Regions from separate parts of the Homo sapiens genome. Here all the other regions are linked to region 2. The links are contacts of gene promoters, found by promoter capture Hi-C in blood cells and fetal thymus (Javierre and others, 2016). All regions are on one chromosome and are shown on one strand. Each heading gives the region's core, a stretch centred on a gene start or on the middle of the fragment in contact. The rest is flanking DNA. Distances are from core to core; before and after follow the strand shown. Region 1 holds the start of PLA2G15 (phospholipase A2 group XV). Region 2 holds the start of EDC4 (enhancer of mRNA decapping 4). Region 3 overlaps NFATC3 (nuclear factor of activated T cells 3).

Region 1 (4,157 bases), core at 1,533-4,032, 370 kb after region 2:
CAGATGGCCCATGGCGCAGGGTCGAGACTCAAGCCCACTCCCAACCCCGCGCCCGAACTGCCCGGACTGGCGGGGTGACGCTGCACTCTGCGCCCCTAAAACGAACAGATTAACCCCTCTCTTGGGAACTGAACATGCTGACCTGGCCTCTCCCGGTTCCCCCCGCATCTGTAACCCCGGGGCAGAGTTACAGGGGCTGACTGGCCGCACCCAGGTGCCCTCGGGGCAGGGTGTGCTAAGAATTGGTGTGGGGGCTGCACAAAGGTCCTGGTCAGCTCCTGGTCACCTGAGGCCCAAGAACTGTCCGGGACTCACTTCCTCTCTTCTTGCTTTAACCGGGGTCGCTCAGCAGCGGCCAGCGCTGCACCCCTTATCCTCTCCCGGTCTTGTCCGTTCCAGATCCTCCAGGTCAGGGGGTCGCCAAGTGAGAGCTGCGCAGCGTGGATTTCGGGTACCCAGGGCTGGGCGGGGTACAGCAGCGGCGAGCTGGGTTCCCGGGTGGGCGACTGACAGCCCGGAGCCAGGCGATACCTCGATCCATCGATGCGCTCGGCGCTCAGCGTGGTCCAGGAAGCAGGGGGTTGGGCAAGGGCGGGGCGGCGACCTCCGACTGGGAGGGGCGTATATGGCGGCGAGTCCCTATTGGCCAGCCATTTGCGGGAGGCGGGCCCTGATTGGCCGGGGGGATGCGGGGGATGCGGGCGGCGGGGTTAAGCGCGTCGCCACCGCCCCCGCCTAGGCGAGAGCCCAGAGAGCTGAACCTGCATCCCGGACCTGCGGCGACCGTCGTACACCATGGGCCTCCACCTCCGCCCCTACCGTGTGGGGCTGCTCCCGGATGGCCTCCTGTTCCTCTTGCTGCTGCTAATGCTGCTCGCGGACCCAGCGCTCCCGGCCGGACGTCACCCCCCAGTGGTGCTGGGTGAGGCACGGGTCTCGTGGTGGATCTGTCGGTCGGGCGGGACGGGCCGCGGGCGGGGCTGCCTTCCCGGTCTGCTTCTGTTCCAGTCACGAAATGGGGGAGCGTATTGGTATCTGTCTTGTCACTTAGGTGATCTAGATCTGCCGGCTCACCTCCCGCCATGCTGGGCGCGGGTGTGGTCAGCTCCCCACCTCCTGTCCTGGTAGAAAATGGGGGTGAGTGGGAGAGTTACCATCTGGTTATTCATAGTTCCACCTGTCCGCATCATTCCCAAGCCTTGCCTCCCCTTATCCCATTTTTAAGCTGGAAAGACAGGTGCTTCAGCCCCACTCCTGAGGGATGGTGGGGGTGTGTAGAGTGGCTCCTGAGTTGACTTCTGCATCGACCTGGGCCTGGTTAGGAGGCTGTCACCCTCGACCCCTCCAATGCCACATATGCCAGAAGGCATTGCTGAAAGGAACCTCCTTAGGGAAAGGATTGCTGTCCTAGCTGGCCACCAACTCCCACAACTTATCAGATGTGTGGCATTGCCTGAGGGAAAAGGCCTAAGGGAAACTGAAGACAACTGAAGTCAGGGGAAAGGGTTGGGACAATGGCCATGAACCTGTGTCAGGCAACATGCTTGTACTCTTACCCTGCCACACATGCTTGGACTAGACTATGTGGAGGCTCGGTGACCTCCCCTGCTCACCCCGCTCCTTGATCACAACCCTGGCAACTCTACAACGGCCACTGTATTTCCTTGCAGGGATGGGCAGGGATGAGACCTCTGTCTGGGGGGCCTTGGGTGCCTCATTGAGGCCGTCACTCCCATCCAGAGCTGGTGTGTCCGTGGCCAGCCAGGATTCCTGAAAGCAGAGGCATCTGAGGCATGAATTACACGTGGAGTCTAGTGCAGCATGATCTCCATGCTCTTTCTGCTGAGAGTACTTTAAATGGGGACGATGCAAATCACAGAAGGGTAGAGTTGGCAGGTAGGGTGGTGCCAGGCAGGCCCCACCAGGAGTTCCCAGCCAGGAAAAGCTCCAGGGGGATACTAGGCCCAGGTTCACCATGGGATTTGGGCAGACTTGGCCCTGCCTCCCCAAAGCTTGCAGGATAGGAATAACAGTGATCCCCAGAGAGGAAGTCTGTGTGGGGCAAGCACAGAGAATCCACCAACCCAGCCTGGATGGGTGGGTGTCAAGTAAGGCTTCCTGGAGTATATAGCTGGAGCTAAGGCCAGGAGAGAGTAATGGGTCGGGGAGAGACGTGAGCATCTCAGGCTGCCTGGGATCGAGTCACAGGAGGAGTGGACTGCACAGGACTTGTGACTGGTTGGGTCATCTGAACTTTATCTTGAGGGCCTCAGGGAGTCCTGGGTTGGCCTGCAGAGTTCTAAGTCTGAGGGGCGTGGCATTAGGAAGCATGTGGTCTGTGGCACACAAAATGGCACATAGCCATTTTGCCTGGATTGATGCTAACCGCACTCATCAATTCAGTCAGTCTGTTTATCCTTGGTCACAGCAGAAGAGCCTCAGACCCCACCCAGAATCACAGAGCAGCAGGAGTCCTAACATGCCCAGCTTCTCAGGGAGTGAGGCTGCTGGCCTTAGCCCTGGGAGACCTCACGGTGGGCAGTTGGATAAGCAGCTCCTGGGCACAGAGCAGGGATCTGACCTTGACTGTCAGAAGATCAGAATCCTCTAGGGGTGGATCCTGAAATGGTGGTGGAGGAAAGAGAGACCAGCGATGTGATACAGAAGACCCTGGGCAAGGGGAAGGGACCATAGGCAAGGCCATTTCCACCTCTTGCAGCCTCAGTCTCCCCATCTGTTAAGTGGAAATAGTAAGGCTGTCCCCTCCCAGTGTTACTTGAGGTGAAAGGCATGTGGATGGCTCTTTTCCTAGTTCCAGGCGCAGATGGGCTCAGGAAGTGGCCACTGCTATTTTTAGGGGCCACACAGCCTGACCAGGGTAAGGAGCATCTGAGCAAAGCAGATCTGGTGACTTCCTCTTTTACCATTTCCCCTTTGGTAGAGACAGTGACCAGGGTCTCTGCCCTGCCCTGCCCAGTCCACAGGCATGTCATCCAGAGGCTGTCATGACAGGGACTCCCTCCCTCTGCACCCATACCATGAAGGGAGGTGAAGGCATGTGCCGCCCCTGCCTCTCATGGCACCCTGAAGACACTGGGATGGTGCCCAGGGAGGGCACGCCCTGTTCAGGGTGGATTTACGGTCAGTTCCCAGTGAATGTCCAGGAGAGCCAAGTGCTGGTTTTTCACTCAATGATCATGGACCCTAAACGGGGATGTGTTTGGGAAGTGGCGAGAGCATGGCATGTGGGGGCAGGTGAGGCCCGAAAGGTCAATGGGAGTAACGAGACTGTGAAGGGCTTTGACGCAGTGGGGAGGGATTTGGGTGTCACCAGGGCCCCAGAGTTCTGAGTACACTGAATAGGATGGCTGGGATGGAGAGAAGTCACCCTAGGGCCTGGACTGTGGTGATAATGGTGCTGGTTCAGGGTGGCTGTTTCCAATACGGGCTCCCAGCCATGCTAGGGCCCTCCAGATGATCTGCTCTCTGGCACCTTACTGGACTCTGGCCTTTAGTAAGGCCTGGGCCCTTGGTAGGCTGGCGGGTGCCAATGTAAGCTTCTCTCAGCTGTGTTTCTGTTCATTTCCCTCCCACCAGCCTGTCCTGCATACTTTGTCTGGTTGAATTTTAGCTGAGTGGCCCAGGGCTCTGTTCTGTTTCCTTCTTCCTCTCTCAGGGCGAACAGGACCCTGTCTTCTATGTAGCCTGGGATAGCTATGGGTGGAAGACTTTTGGGTTCAAGCCTCCAGGGTATATATCTTTTTTTTTTTTTGAGACCGGGTCTTGCTCTGTCACCCAGGCTGGAGGGCAATGGCACGATTTTGGCTCACTGCAACCTCTGCCTCCCGGGTTCAAGCAATTCTCCTGTCTTAGGCTCCTGAGTAGCTGGGATTACAGGTGTGTGCCACCACACCAAGGTAATTTTTTGTATTTTTAGTAGAGATGGGCTTTCACCATATTGGCCAAGCTGGTCTTGAACTCCTGACCGCAAGTGATCCACTCACCTCGGCCTCCCAAAGTGCTGGGATTACAGGCATGAGCCCCTGCGCCCTGCCTCGAAGGTATATATCTAATGACAAGGGCCTTGGCCAAACTTTGGAGGTTCTGGAATGCAAAGGGGTCTCCAAGCCCCTCCTCCCAGGCAGAGCTCCCATCGG
Region 2 (4,273 bases), core at 1,271-3,770:
TGCTGTAGCTAAGGGTGAATTATTGTGCAGTTTAAGCACACATAGCACACATAGGCGTGGCTGATTGTTGGCCTACATGTGCCCAGGGCATTGTTTCATACATTACATCAATTCACATTCACAAGTACCCCTTGGCTACACTGGGATTTGAGTTCAGGACAGTAGGGCCTGATCCTAAAGTCAACATTTTTTTGCCCTCTTCTCCTACCACTGAATTCCCTTCCTGTTTCTTGATCCCCTTACTGAATCCTCTTTTCTCTCCTCATAGGCGGATGAAGACCCCATCATGGGGTTCCACCAGATGTTCCTATTAAAGAACATCAACGATGCTTGGGTTTGCACCAATGACATGTTCAGGCTCGCCCTGCACAACTTTGGCTGACCTCCTCTCAGCTAGGCACTCACGCTGTTTCCTCCTCCCTCCTCTTCCCAATACTATTCCCACTCCTCCAGATGCTCCAAATATCATGCACAAATGAGCAGGGCCGCGGTGGGAGTGGGCGCAGTGCGCTGCTGCCACTGAGGTGTTGTGCATGATGTTTGGATGCTAGACTAGTTGCATCTGACGGGAGAAGTTTGTGTTGTACCAGCGCATGCCTTGGAAAGACTTAAGTAATGCAAAAGGTTGTCCTTTTTTTTTTTTTTTTTTTTTTAATCTACTGACAAGTTGCTCTAGTAACCCAAAGAAGTGAAGGAGAAAGCAGCTGCCTCACCGCCCAGACATTGATTTGTTCAGATGTTTCAATGCCTCATGATACAATAAAACCACAAAAATTTTCTTAACAGTTTAAATTGTTTTAATTAGTTTACTAGTTGGCTGGGCATCAGAAGCTACCCAGACCCGTTGTCTCTCTCATGTTTCACCCTCCCACTTCTGCCCCAACTCTGAATACCTGTTGCAGGGAGAAACTGCTGAAGCAGCACTCCCAGCTAGCCTCTCAGAAGCCGTGTAGGGCAGTTCTCTCCCACTCCACAGGGCGACTGGTCTTTGGAAAGCAGGCAGGAAGAGCTCAGGTCTGGCCTGAAGCTTCTCTCACTGAAGCCTGTGCAGTCAGTTCTGATACCTCCTGTGACTTCTGCTCTGGGTAGGTTCAGGGCCCTAGTAGCAGGAGAGATGATCCTGAATCCTGTTGAAGCTGGAGAGGCCTTGGCAAAATGGCTCATCACGTTCAGGCCCTCCGGGCTGAGTTGTCAGCAGTATCAAGGGAGGGGCCTGCTCTATCCCCAGAAGGATCAGGATCATATCCAGGATGCCCCACATACACCAAGCCAGGCAGAGGGCAGCTCAGCTCCTGTCCCATCTGCTTTGGATATCTTTACCCAAAGGCAGGTAACCCGAAGAGCCAGCCTCCACTGCCCACAGAGCCAGGCCCAGTTGTGTTGGAGTATAGGTCAGGAGCTGTGGAAGGAGGCAGTCTGTGAGGGACTCATGCTTTAGGAGTCCTCACCCCTCAGACTGCTGCAGGACATTGCCAGGCCTCTCTCCACTTCCTTCCTCAGCATACAGACTTCATGCTATCTTCCAATTCCGGGGAGTCTTAGCTATTAGGGCAGTTTCTGCTTCTCCATTTTGGGGACAAAGGCCTTGCCCAGTACAAATCTAGCCCCTTGTCCCACAGACTTCTGGATGGTATAAACCTAGTGGCAATGTAGCAACCATAGGCTAGAACCAAACCCAAGATTTGGGTCAGTGCCCTGTTAAGGGTTTTAGGATTGGTAAGGACACCACAGCTAAATCTGACATGTAAAAGGATACCCTTCCCCTGTCCCACTACGGGTGGAGGCTAAGGACCTCCTCAGATCCCACAGATTGCCTGGTGACATTGGGCACAGGGCTGGATGGTGTGCTGTTTGAGAGGACAGCATGCTCAGGAGATTTCAGTGGGAATGATCTCTAGGCTGATGTGTATTTGGGGAAGTGGGGGTGGGGAAGAGGTAGGTGCCTGCTGCCTCAAACCACCTTGTGTAAAATCTGCAATACGGCTTCTTCCATGTACCTGTGCCTGAACTGTCTGCAATAAAGAAGAATTTGTAAACTGTGGTTTCTTTCTTCCAACCTGAGGGTGCCAGGTGGGACAAGGGGATGCTGGGGGACAGTAGGGAACAATGACTGGTCATTGTAGTGGGATCATCTCCCCTGCTCTTGCAATTCCTGAGTTTTATGACCTCGAGGGTAGCCTCAGGCCTTGAGTTATTCCGACCCATTCCCAAAGGGAACCTGAGGCACCTGCCAATTCAGCATATTCTGGGGGTCTGAGGGACCTTAGCATGGGCGGCTAAGTTGACCCCGTCCCAGGACCATCGGAGTCCATGCTCTGGGAGTGGGCAGGGACCTGGCGCCTTCTGAGTCGAGTAGGGCTTTAGGTGGCCCAGTGCGTGGACGCTTACTTCAGCCCCGTGGGACTTTCCTGACCTCGCGGACACAGGGGCGGGGCCGCCGAGGGGGACTGGCTGCGGGAGGGGTTTAGGCTTCCGCCCCCAGCCCGGAACCTTTCTTCTCCGGCCCTGGCAGGTTCCGGGAGCCTCGGCTCGTGGGTGCCGGAAGTGGAGGCGGTTGGTGGGGTTGGCGGGGCTCAGCGACGCTGCGCGGGTGGCGGTTTGCGAACTGCGGGTGGACTGTGTAGTGACCGGCGTCCCGCTGTCTCGCCCCGTGGCGGGTGAGCGAGGGTGCGTGGTGCGCGGCGGCGGCGGAACGAACGCGGTGCGGGCGGGGCGCCCGCCGCAGGGCCCATGGCCTCCTGCGCGAGCATCGACATCGAGGACGCCACGCAGCACCTGCGGGACATCCTCAAGCTGGACCGGCCCGCGGGCGGTGAGCGGGGGTTGCGGGGGTGGGCCCCAGGCGAGCTGACAAAAGGGCGGCGCGCGTCTGAACCGCCATTGGGGCCCACAGCTCCCTTAGGACTAGCTCTGGATCCTCCCGGCGGGTAAGGGTGGACGGGGATTGACTGTGCCCCTCGAAGGGCGCAGACCCCTGGGTGTGACCCCTCCCTATCTTGTCCTCAGGCTGTTCTGCCTTGTCCTTCAGCGTCTCGGTTGAAGGTGAGGCGCCTTCTCTGAATCCGCTGGGGCCCTCTGGTTTCCTGGCCCCGAGGTCTCTAGTGTTCCTGGGACTGGCCTAGCTCCTCTTCCCTTTCTCCATGGTTCAGAGGCCTGGTCTGGGCTCCGTATATGGAATTCTGGGCCCAGGCTTAAGCGCGATGCTGAAGAGCTGCCGGTCCCCCTCCATAACTTGCCCTTCTCTCTGGAATAAAGACTCCAGGCCTCCCGTTCTGAAACTGATTTCCAGGAGGAAGGTGTCCAGTCTCAATTCCGTGTTCTTTCTGGGATGAAGGCAAATCACAGACCGCACCACCCTGACTGAATTATGCTACAAATATCTGCAAGCCCTAATTGGTTCCCATTCATTCATATTTCGCTTTGGCTCTTAATGATACCTCAGAACTAGTCTTGCCCCCAAAGATTCCCCAAGACACAGCTAACAGGGTTGTAATATACTGTTGTCATTGAAAGAAAGGAGTGTCTCGATACTGTGATGGGCGTGGGAAGGGTGGAGGCTGGTGAGTGCAGAGTGCAGGTCTGAGAGGGGAGACTGGGCTAGGTCTTGTAATGTGAACAGGGGCTTGGGTGTCAGGAAAGGCACCCAAGGCACCTATGGAGAAGCCACCTATTAGGAAGAGGAAATAGCACGTGTGCAGGCACTAGTTTACTGACAGGTTTAGGGATCTCTGAAGTGGCCGGTGATGATGGTGTGGGCGTACAGTGGAGAATTGTGTTTCCTCAGATCTTGTTCTTACACCTGCTGGGAGGCCCAGACTGGCTGCTTCTGGAAGCAGGCACTGGTGCTCACTAGGGGTGGATTCAACTAACCCCTACTTTCAGAAAATCCATCTGCTGCCTGAGACCACTCGGCCCTTTGTCCCAGGCCTGGAGTGTGTGCCCTCTTTACTCATGAGTTGGGCGTGGACCTCTCCTGCTGCTCAGCTGCTTTGTAGACTAGACTCCGCAGAGATTTGGTAGAGCCTGGCATGGCCAACCATGTACAGCCTGAGCCTGCTTTTTGGTTGTCCTCATGGTACCCTTCATGGAAGGGAGAGTTGTCAGCTTGTCCCTGAGCAGCTAAAGTGGCTCTGATCTGAATGAAGTGGCCTGGAGGCTTTCCTTATAACTACTTTGTTTATTGATTGGCACTTGATTCCCTTGTTTGCCAAGCAGCTCTTTCTTGTCTCCTCTCACTGGACGACCAGGTCAGAACTCAGACTATTGAGGACTG
Region 3 (4,244 bases), core at 191-2,690, 330 kb after region 2:
AGCCTCCCGAGTAGCTGGGATTACAGGTGCCCACTGCCGTGCCCAGCTAATTTTTGTATTTTTAGTAGAGACAGGGTTTAGTCATGTTGGCCAGGCTGGTATTGAACTCCTGACCTCAAGCGATCTGCCTGCCTCAGCCTCCTAAAGTGCTGGGATTACAGGCATGAGCCACTGCACTTGGCCTTTTTAAAATTTATTTTGAGACAGGGTCTCACTCTGTTGCACAGGCTGGAGTGCAGTGGCGTGATCATGGCTTACTGCAGCCTTGACCTCCTGGGACTCAGGTGATCCTTCCACTTTAGCCCCCCAAGTAGCAGGGACTACAGGCACACACCACAGTGCCTAGCTGATTTTTGGGGGGTTTTTTGTTTGTTTTTGTTTTTTTTATTGTTTTTTGTTTTTGGTAGAGATGGAGTTTCGCCATGTTGCCCAGGCTGGTCTCAAACTCCTGGGCTCAAGTGATCTGCCCTCCTTGGCCTCCCAAAGTGCTGGTATTACAGGCGTGAGCCACTGTGCCCGTTTGTCAAGCTGTTTTAAACATTTTAATTAAGATTTGATTCAGTGTGGTAATTGATACTGTTTTTTTGTTTGTTTCTTTTAAAAAAAAGAAAGATTATAGCGGCCAGACACAGTGGCTCATGCCTGTAATCCCAGCACTTTGGGAGGCTTAGGTGGGTGGATCACCTGAGGTCAGGAGTTCGAGTCCAGCCTGGCCAACATGGCAAAACCCCATCTCTACCAAAAAGGAAAAAAAGAAAAATCAGCTGGGCACGATGGTGCATGCCTGTAGTCCCAGCTACTTGGGAGGCTGGCATAGGAGAATCACTTGAATCCGGGAGGTGGAGGTTGCAGTGAGCTGAGATGGCACCACTGCACTCCAGCCTGGGCAACAGAGTGAGACTCCATCTCAAAAAAAAAAAAAAAAAAAAAAAAAAAGATTATAGTATTGTGAAACTAGACTATCTTAGACCTTTAAATACAGGCCCATTTAATTTATGATTGAGTTAACCGAATCCTGTTACAACTTTCCATTAAAGTCCCTCAGTTCCCACTTGTCCTCCTTGTTCACAGACTAACAGAGCCACAGCTGCAGCTCTTCAGCAGAGAAGAGGATGCATGTTAAATATAGCCTGACCTGATGCTGTGCTGAAAACTGACACTGCCACTTGCAGGCTCTGTGCAGTAACATGCTGATCCTGAATGTAGGGCATTTGGTAATTCAGCAGTAGTAAACAGGGACTCTAGTCATGACCTCAGCTGCTTCAGTTCTGTATGTAAAAGACAAGCAGAAGAGCCTGCTTTCAAAAAGCAGGTGCTTTTTAAAATCAAGGGAATGATAAACACAACATTCAGGTGGTTACTTGGATGTGGGAAGCAGGAGACTGGTATGGAGGAGGAACAGAGAGGTTAGTATTGTCAGTGTTCTCTTGCACCTGTTGGTTAGTGGTTTCACTGGTGTCTATTTTATTAAAATAAAACAAGGCAAGGCGCGGTGGCTGACGCCTGTAATCCCAGCACTTTGGGAGGCCGAGGCAGGTAGATCGCCTGAGGTCAAGAGTTTGAGACCAGCCTGGCCAATATAGTGAAACCCCGTCTCTACTAAAAATACAAAAATTAGCTGGGCGTGGTGGTGGACACCTATAATCCCAGCTACTCGGGAGGCTGAGGCAGGAGAATCGCTTGAACCTAGGAGGCGGAGGTTGCAGTGAGCCGAGATCGTGCCATTGCACTCCAGCCTGGGCAACAGGAGCAAAACTCCATCTCAAAATAAATAAATAAATAATAAAAAAAAATAAATAAATAAAATTAAATAAAAGCCATACACAGCCAGTGGTGAGAATGTGTCATCTATGAGGTATAATCACTATGGGCACTGGAGTGGAGGGAGGTAGATAATGCTGAAATTTCTCTTTTAACTTGGACACTGGATAACTCACGAATCCTCTTTTGGGAAGCATACATGTACTATACAGCCTCAAACGTGTTTAGGATGAATGATTCCAGAAGCTGAAAGGTCTTGTAAATAATGCCTATGTAGGCTTTAAATCATGGCTTATGCGAGATGGACCATGATGGGGATTCAAGACCTTAGACACAACCACCCTGGGACATACAATAAGAAAAATTGAGTTTTAGGCCTAATGAAGAAAGAACAACAAACATTTGAGAAGATTTTTTATTTTTTATATCGAATGCGTCTGTGTATTTCCATGGACATAAATAAGTTGTACCTTTTTTTAAATGAATGTATTATTTCTGAACAAAAAATTTATTTTAATCAACCTACATTAAGATTTATACATGACCAGGTGCTGTGGCTCGTGTGTAATCCCAGCACTTTGGGAGGCCAGAGCCGGTGGATCGCTTGAGCTCGGGAGTTTGAGACCAGCTTGGGCAACATGGTGAAACCCTGTCTCTATAAAAAATACCAGAATTAGGCCGGGTGTGGTGGCGTGTGCCTATAGTCCCAGCTACTCGAGAGGCTGAGGTGGGAGGATCGCTGGAGCCTGGAAGGCAGAGGTTGAAATTAGCAGAGATCATGCCACTGCACTTCAACTTGGGCGACAGAGTGAGACCCTGTCTCAAAATAAATAAAATGCAATTAAAAATATAATTTATACATAAGCTAGGAAAAGTCCAAGAGAGGCTACCACTAAAGCAGCATATCAGAAGTCTTCAAACTAAGTTCCCCTCAAAATGTGTATTTAAAAATAGTTAATGGCTGGGCGCGGTGGCTCGTGCCTGTAATCCCAGCACTTTGAAAGACCGAGATGGGAGGATCATTTGACATCAGGAGTTCAAGACCAGCTTAACCAACATGGTGAAACTTCGTCTCTACTAAAAACAGTAAAAATTGGGCCAGGCACAGTGGCTCATGATTGCAATCCCAGCACTTTGGGAGGTCGAGGCAGGCGGATCACTGGAGGCCAGGAGTTTGACACCAGGCTAGCCAACATGGTGAAACCCCGTCTCTACTGAAAATACAAAAATAAGCCGGGTGTGGTGGCACACATCTGTAATCTCAGCTACTTGGGAGGCTAAGGCAGGAGAATCGTTTGAACCTGGGAGGCAGAGGTTGCAGTGAGCTGAGATGGTGCCACTGCACTCCAGCCTGGGCGACAGAGCAAGACTCCATCTCCAAAAAAAAAAGAAAATAGTGAAAATTAGCCACGCATGGTGGTGAACGCCTGTAATTTCAGCTACTCATGAGGCTGAGGCAGGAGAATCACTTGAACCTGGGAGACAGAGGTTGCAGTGAGCTGAGATCAGGCCACTGCACTCCAGCCTGGGCAGCAGAGTGATACTCTGTCTCAAAAATACAAAAAATGGTAATGAATTATGGTTACTGTTTCTTGATAAACTCATATTTTTTTTGAACACTGTGCTAGGCACTTTGCTAGTGGCTCATTAATTCTTTGCAATCATGTGTGAAATGTGAATTATTAGTCTTAATTTTGTATAGATGTGGCTCAGAGACCTTAAGCACATCCCAGCGTTATATGGCCACAAATAATTGGGGCAGACATTTGAATCCAGATTTGTCTGAAATGTAGATTTTCTCACATGTGTTTTTAGTGGCTTCTAAAATAGCTATAATTGATTACTTATATAATCTCGCTTTCGTAAAGACAATAGCATTGTAACTTTCTAATGTGCTGCCATGTGTAAGATAGCAAAACCTGTCTTAAAGATGTATTCTATTTTAAAATTGATATCCTTTTTTTGAGTTCCTTCGAAGACAGATTATTCACAGGAACAAAAAGATTTTTTAATGAGAGATAAATTGTTTAATTTTAGGTTCAGCAGTTGAACAAGCTTTTTGTGGTTTGGTGGCAGTTTTCTGCCTTGGCATTACAAGGTTACCTCTTGCTAACAATCATAGCTTTTGATAGACTTAGATAAATGTGTTCAAACAGCTTTTCTCTGTTTGAAGATGCCTGGCTCTTTTTTTTTTTTTTTTTTAAAGACATTTCCAAAGCCTACAGTTAGTGTCTCCATCTGGGCAAGAGACAACATGTGAAAGTCTCATTTATGCTGGAAGATAGGGTAGGGTTGAGAGTGATGGTTACAAGCATTTTAACTTTACATCTACAAGAGTGTGGTACAGATTAAGTCCTTGATAATCATGTTGTATATTTAAAAACATCTATAGATGATTTTATGTAGAATGGGAATTTTAACATTTTAAATGTGTTTATTTCTTTGGTGGGGGAACGGAGACAGGAGTTTGCTCTGTTGATCAG

Evidence for each region. Contacts are between HindIII fragments. The CHiCAGO score rates a contact against its expected background, and 5 or more counts as called.
Region 1: a fragment that was not itself captured here is called in contact with the fragment with the promoter of EDC4 in region 2 in 1 of 17 cell types (fetal thymus); the score reaches 5.1 in fetal thymus.
Region 3: a fragment that was not itself captured here is called in contact with the fragment with the promoter of EDC4 in region 2 in 1 of 17 cell types (total CD4 T cells); the score reaches 5.9 in total CD4 T cells.

What each region holds. Positions count from the first base shown.
Region 1 is chr16:68,244,632-68,248,788 of GRCh38, forward strand. PLA2G15 (phospholipase A2 group XV) reads left to right here and starts at 742. Exons shown (of 6, transcript NM_012320.4): 1 at 742-922. The coding sequence starts at 796. RefSeq lists enhancers at 1-86, 1,208-1,708 and a silencer at 562-791. The HindIII fragment of the contact is 1,545 bases long and covers 2,011-3,555 here.
Region 2 is chr16:67,870,532-67,874,804 of GRCh38, forward strand. It overlaps EDC4 (enhancer of mRNA decapping 4), which reads left to right and starts at 2,521. Exons shown (of 29, transcript NM_014329.5): 1 at 2,521-2,812. The coding sequence starts at 2,731. NUTF2 (nuclear transport factor 2) reads left to right here. Exons shown (of 5, transcript NM_005796.3): 5 at 269-2,036. The coding sequence ends at 382. RefSeq lists a silencer at 2,634-2,843 and an enhancer at 2,737-3,237. The HindIII fragment of the contact is 5,556 bases long and covers 1,026-4,273 here.
Region 3 is chr16:68,201,049-68,205,292 of GRCh38, forward strand. The region is part of intron 9 of NFATC3 (nuclear factor of activated T cells 3); the gene reads left to right. Among named protein-coding and RNA genes, the nearest start is that of MIR6773, 30 kb to the right of the region's middle. The HindIII fragment of the contact is 4,748 bases long and covers 1-3,814 here.